Regions from separate parts of the Homo sapiens genome. Here region 2 is linked to region 1. Evidence: promoter capture Hi-C in human tissues and cell types (Jung and others, 2019). All regions are on one chromosome and are shown on one strand. Each heading gives the region's core, a stretch centred on a gene start or on the middle of the fragment in contact. The rest is flanking DNA. Distances are from core to core; before and after follow the strand shown.

Region 1 (2,700 bases), core at 118-2,617:
GCAAGGCTGCCGTGCAGGTGGGTCCCGGCTGGTGGGGGCTCCGGTCGAAGCGGGGTGGGGGGGTGGTGGGGGGTAGGGGTAGGGGGGTGAGGTGGGGGACCTGTGTTCCTGCGGCCCACTCTGAAAGGGGAGTGAGTGCAGCTGGGCCTCCGGGAGCCAGCGCTGGCCAATGTCCCGTGGAGGACGGGGAGGCGAGGAGGTCTTTAGGAAGCTCTGGGCCTAAGGGAGGGGCCGGGCTGGGAAGAGGGGGTACAAGGATGAAAAGGAGGCCAGGTCGTCGGGGCTTTGTGCAACAGACTGGGGAGGATGTGTGGAGACAGAGGAAGGTGATGATGAAGACAACGGGGGCGGTTCTGAGAAGCAGAACTTCCAGTGACTAAGAGTCACTGGAAGCAGCTGGCTTCATTTAGGGTTTGTGGCGTTTGGGGTGTCTAGGGGCTTCCAGGGAAGTTTGCTCAGTGGACGGTTGGAGATGCGAGGGCCTCCCCAGATGGTCAGGACTAGAGGCACAGACGGGGCTTCAGCCTCGCCGAGGTGGCACTGAGGCTGGGAGCTGATGGCCCCACAAGGAGAAGGACGGTGGGAACCCTGGGGCCTGCAGCCTGTTCCGGGAGGGCTGGAGCCAGGCTTTTCGGGCCCACCTGGCATTTGGAGATTAGGTGACCCAACCTTGTCTTCCCATCCCCTTTTCACAGATGGGGACACTGACCCTCCAGGCAAAGGCTCAGAGTCGCTCAAGGTCATCTGCTGGTCGTTGCATTCGAAACTTCCAGCCTAGCGCTCCGTCTCCGCCTCTTAAAATGTTCATTAACAAAAAACCAGCCCTCCAAGACCCGGGGCACTGCGAGTTTTCGCGCAGACGTCAAGCTGCGGCTCCAGGACGTGATTTTCGCAGGGAGCCGGGTGGACCAGGCTCTGGGGCCGGGCCCGCAGGCTCCGCTGGACGCGCAGAGCCCAGGACAGACAAGACCGCCCCGCCCCGCCCCGCCCCGCGGGCCCCGAGCCCCCAACCCGCCCCCGAGCGCGCCCCCGGGAGCGCGCGCTTCGCCGACGCGGCCGCGCGCCCCCCCGCGCGCTCCCGCTCCTGCGCGTCCTCGCGCCCCGCGCGCGCGCGCCCTGCCCCCGCGGCCCCGTGACGCGCGCGCGCAGAGACGCTCCCGCCGGGCCGGGGCCGAGAGCAGCAGGGCCGGGTCCGGGTCCGCAGCGCCTGCGGGGAGGGGCCGAGCGCGCGCGGGGCGGGCCGGGGACCGTGGGGCGCGGGGGCGCGCGAGGCGGCCGTGGCGGGGCCGCGCTGAGGAGGCGCCGAGGGGAGGGAGGTCCCTGCGCGCCCGCCGCCCGCCTCCCGCGCCCGCGCCGCCGCCTCCTCCTCGGTGCGGTTCCGCCGGGCGCGAGGAGCCGCCGAGACCTCCGCCTGCGAACAAAGAGGAGGCCGTGCGGGGCGCGGCGCCCGCGGAGCATGGCGGACCGCAGCCTGGAGGGCATGGCGCTGCCCCTGGAGGTGCGGGCGCGCCTGGCCGAGCTGGAGCTGGAGCTGTCGGAAGGTAACCGGGCCCCCGCCCCGGGCCGGGCCGCGCTGTCACCGGGGAGGGCCGCGCGCGGAGGGCTGGGGGCGCGGGGCCTGCGGCGGGGCGGGGGCCGGGCCCGGAGGGGGAGGTGCGACCCCAGCCCGGAGCGTGCGCGTCCCCCGGACCCCCAGACCCCGCGCCCTAGGGACGTTTGTGAGGCCGCGATCCCCCGCGCTCTGGGGACGTTTGTGGGGCCGCGATTCCCCGCGCCCTGGGGGTGTCTGTGGGGCCTGGGATCCCCTCGCGCTCTGGGGGTGTTTGTGGGGCCGCGATCCCCCGCGCCCTGGGATGTTTGTGGGGCCGCGATCCCCCCGCGCCCTGGGGGTGTCTGTGGGGCCTGGGCGCCGCGCGGGGACGCAGGATGCAGCGGGCCCGGCGGGATCGGCCTTCCCGTGCGCTCTGCGCTGGAGCCGCGGCGTCCTTGGTGCAGCAGCGCGGTGCGCGCCACCTCCTCGCTGGCGGGTTCGGCCTGGAACGCCCGGCCAGATTTCAATGCGAAACTTGTCGTTGGACCCCGGGTTCGATCTCTGGTGGCTCAGGCCGTGCAGCGGTCCTGGCGCGGCCCGGGGGATCCCACCCCCATTGTTCGCGGGCGCTGCGCGGGGAGGGCTGGGCGGAATCGTCAACCTCCCCCCGGGCCGGGCTCCGGCCTTGCCGTCCTGGTCCTCTCGTAGGAGGGTTTGTGGCAGATCAGCCACCGCGGTCTTATGGAGGGTTGTGTACGCCTCTTATTTGCTCTTCATGGCGGAGATCATGTGCTCAACTGTCATAAGTTTCAGATCGGGCTTTGCCAGGTCTTTTCCCCAAAACCACTGAAGTTCCCAAATCTGAAATGTTTGATGTGCATTTAGCCGTCTCTGGGCTCATCCTGGTCAGGCCATTCCTGTAACGTGGGGTGGGGTGGGGGTGGGCCGGCGCGTCTCACATTTATATTTGGAGCAGTTTAGCATGGTGAACTTTTTTTGGGTAACGGTTTTGTGAGGGCCGGCAGCCAGAAAGTAAACTCATTCGTGCCAATTTTCACCGGCAGGGAGGAGCTGGTGTTGACTTTATGTTTTCCTTTTTAACACTTTCAGGGCAAAGAAGGGAGTGAGCAGGGGCCATGGTGTGCAGCCAACTGCCTTTCCAGACTTCT
Region 2 (2,700 bases), core at 60-2,559, 36 kb before region 1:
GGTGCGTGAACCATACGGTGCTTGTGAGTGGACGGGTGAGCCGACGGGTGCGTGAACAATACGGTGCTTGTGAGTGGACGGGTGAGCCGACGGGTGCGTGAACGATACGGTGCTTGTGAGTGGACGGGTGAGCCGACGGGTGCGTGAACGATACGGTGCTTGTGAGTGGACGGGTGAGCCGACGGGTGCGTGAACGATACGGTGCTTGTGAGTGGACGGGTGAGCCGACAGGTGCGTGAACCATACGGTGCTTGTGAGTGGACGGGTGAGCCGACGGGTGCATGAATGAATATGGGAGAACACAGGGTGGCCGTCGTCATGGGGCTGGGTGAGGCTCGTCTCAGGGTAAGCAGCTTCACCAGGGAGGGTTGTGGTCTTGCTCAGTCCTGGAGGTGGCTGGTGTCTGCCCCACAGCTGCTGGCCATGAGGACATGCTCGGCCCGGGCACATCCCCTCCACACCCTCAGTTCCTAGGCATGACGCTGCGTTTTGATGAATGTGAGCTGAAATATGCTGTTTTGAGTAGATCAGACACAGTCAGTGTTTCCACTGCACAGCAGCTCGGGAAATGAGGGAAAAGGCGAAGACCAGGACAGTGAAAGGCTGAGGAAGTCAGGGAGGGTGGGGCCGATGGGACTTCAGAGGCCAGCAGGGATGTGGGCTGGGCCTGGTGAAACATAGGGCTGAGGCTTGGGCAGCGCCCACAGGGAGGACCAGGGAGGGGGCCGCACCCGCCTTCTGCGCCTCTCAGCTAGGGCTTTTCCTGCAGAGTAATGTCAGCGAGAACGTGCTATGAACATGCAGACACCCAAAGCAGGGAGTGGTGCTTTCCCAGGATCTGCAGGCAGAATATTCGGGTCCGGGGCAGCTGCTGGGTGGGCTCCAGACACACCCTGCTGGGCTCTGGGCAGGGCTGCTGCCTGGCCCTGGGAAGGGCTGGTGGTCGGCAGGCCCTGGGACCCTTGGGGCCGGCACTGTGCTGTTAAACATCCAGGACCCTCCACAATCGAACAAGGACTGGAGGCTACATCAGAAAGCGTGTGTTTCATCAACATAAATCCAGGTAGAACTCGTATTTGGCTCCATCCACGGCCCTCCCATTGCAGGCCGACGCCAGCCCAGCCCCGGAACTGATCTCATCTTGCAGGAGTTTCTGAAAGAGCTGGAGATGCTTCTACCCCTCCTAGGAATACTACAGGTTTCTAAACATAGAGGAAATGCACCAGCACGTTTTCCTTTAAGCTTCTGAAACCCAGATATCAAAAACAAATAAGTTAACGGGTAATTATTTTCTTTACTCGACCCAAGGATTTATATAGAAAGTTTATATTAAGATGGAATTTCATCTACAAAAGTTTGATGTGCCTAGATTTTATTTTATTTTATTTATTTTATGACAGAGTTTTGCTCTTGTTGTCCAGGCTGGAGTGCAATGGCAAGATCTCGGCTCACTGCAACCTCAGTCTCCTGGGCTCAAGTGATTCTCCTGCCTCAGCCTCCTGAGTAGCTGGGATTACAGGCACCCATGACCACGCCCAGCTATTTTTTTGTTTGCTTATTTATTTATTGAGATGGAGTTTCCATCTTGTAGCTCAGGCTGCAGTGCAATGGCATGATCTCAGCTCACCACAACCTCTGCTTCCCAGATTCAAGCGATTCTCCTGCCTCAGCCTCCCAAGCTAGGATTACAGGAATGCACCACCACGCCTGACTAACTTTGTATTTTTAGTAGAGACAGGATTTCTCCATGTTGGTCAGGCTGGTCTCAAACTCCCAACCTCAGGTGATCTGCCTGCCTTGGCCTCCCAAAGTGCTGGGATTACAGGCGTGAGCCACCATGACCGGCTATTTTTAATATTTGTTCGTAGATGTGGTTTCACCATATTGGCAGGCTAGTCTCGAACTCCTGACCTCAGGTGATCCACCCGCTTCAGCCTCCAAAAGTGCTGGGATTACAGGTGTGAGCCACTGCGCCCGCCTGCCTAGATATTAAATAACGTAAACACTCAACACAGATTGGACCCCCTCCTAGATTGATGCAGGATGTCTGCTTTAGTGAAGCATGGCCTTCGTGGGTCTGAGAACAGCCAGACGGCCACCCTGAGCTTCGTCTGGAGTGACTGGACCGGGCAGCTGAACTGACTTGCTGCAGCCGATTGCACAGGGTGGGTTTGTGGCAGGAACCTGGACACACTGATCCGAGAGAATGGGAGATCAGAGAGCACTGTGGGGTGTTGGGGGTCCAGAGGGACGGAGGCTCTGTCTCCCACCACCGCATCCCCAGAGCTGAATACCAGTGTCCAACACATAGTAGGTGCTCACTAAACATGTACTGAACGTGTGGACAAATTCAGGGGAGAATGGATACACAGAGCACTTGTGTGTGAAGCAAAAGCCCAGGATTCCACGTTCTGTCTGTTACGTCCTGGCCACGTGACCATCTCTCCACACAGTGGTACCCCTGACACGTACTGTATCCATGTCACGTGATGCTGGGCATGGTGATGATGGCGTGACCTTTTCCCACACAGTGAAACCCCTGACACGTACTGTATCCCTGTCACATGACGCCGGGCGTGGTGATGATGGCGTGACCTTTTCCCACACAGTGATACCCCTGACACGTACTGTATTCCTGTCACATGACGCCGGGTGTGGTGATGATGGTGTGACCTTTTCCCACACAGTGATACCCCTGAC

Evidence for each region. The method cuts DNA at HindIII sites, captures the fragments that hold promoters and counts their contacts. A contact is called where the count stands out against the background at its distance.
Region 2: a fragment that was not itself captured here is called in contact with the fragment with the promoter of DIP2C in region 1 in 2 of the 25 tissues and cell types used here (H1 embryonic stem cells and bladder).

Annotation. Positions count from the first base shown.
Region 1 is chr10:688,335-691,034 of GRCh38, reverse strand. It overlaps DIP2C (disco interacting protein 2 homolog C), which reads left to right and starts at 1,367. Exons shown (of 37, transcript NM_014974.3): 1 at 1,367-1,541. The coding sequence starts at 1,457. RefSeq lists an enhancer at 57-992. The HindIII fragment of the contact is 17,538 bases long and covers 1-2,700 here.
Region 2 is chr10:723,930-726,629 of GRCh38, reverse strand. No RefSeq gene overlaps it. Among named protein-coding and RNA genes, the nearest start is that of DIP2C, 36 kb to the right of the region's middle. RefSeq lists an enhancer at 325-825. The HindIII fragment of the contact is 7,237 bases long and covers 1-2,700 here.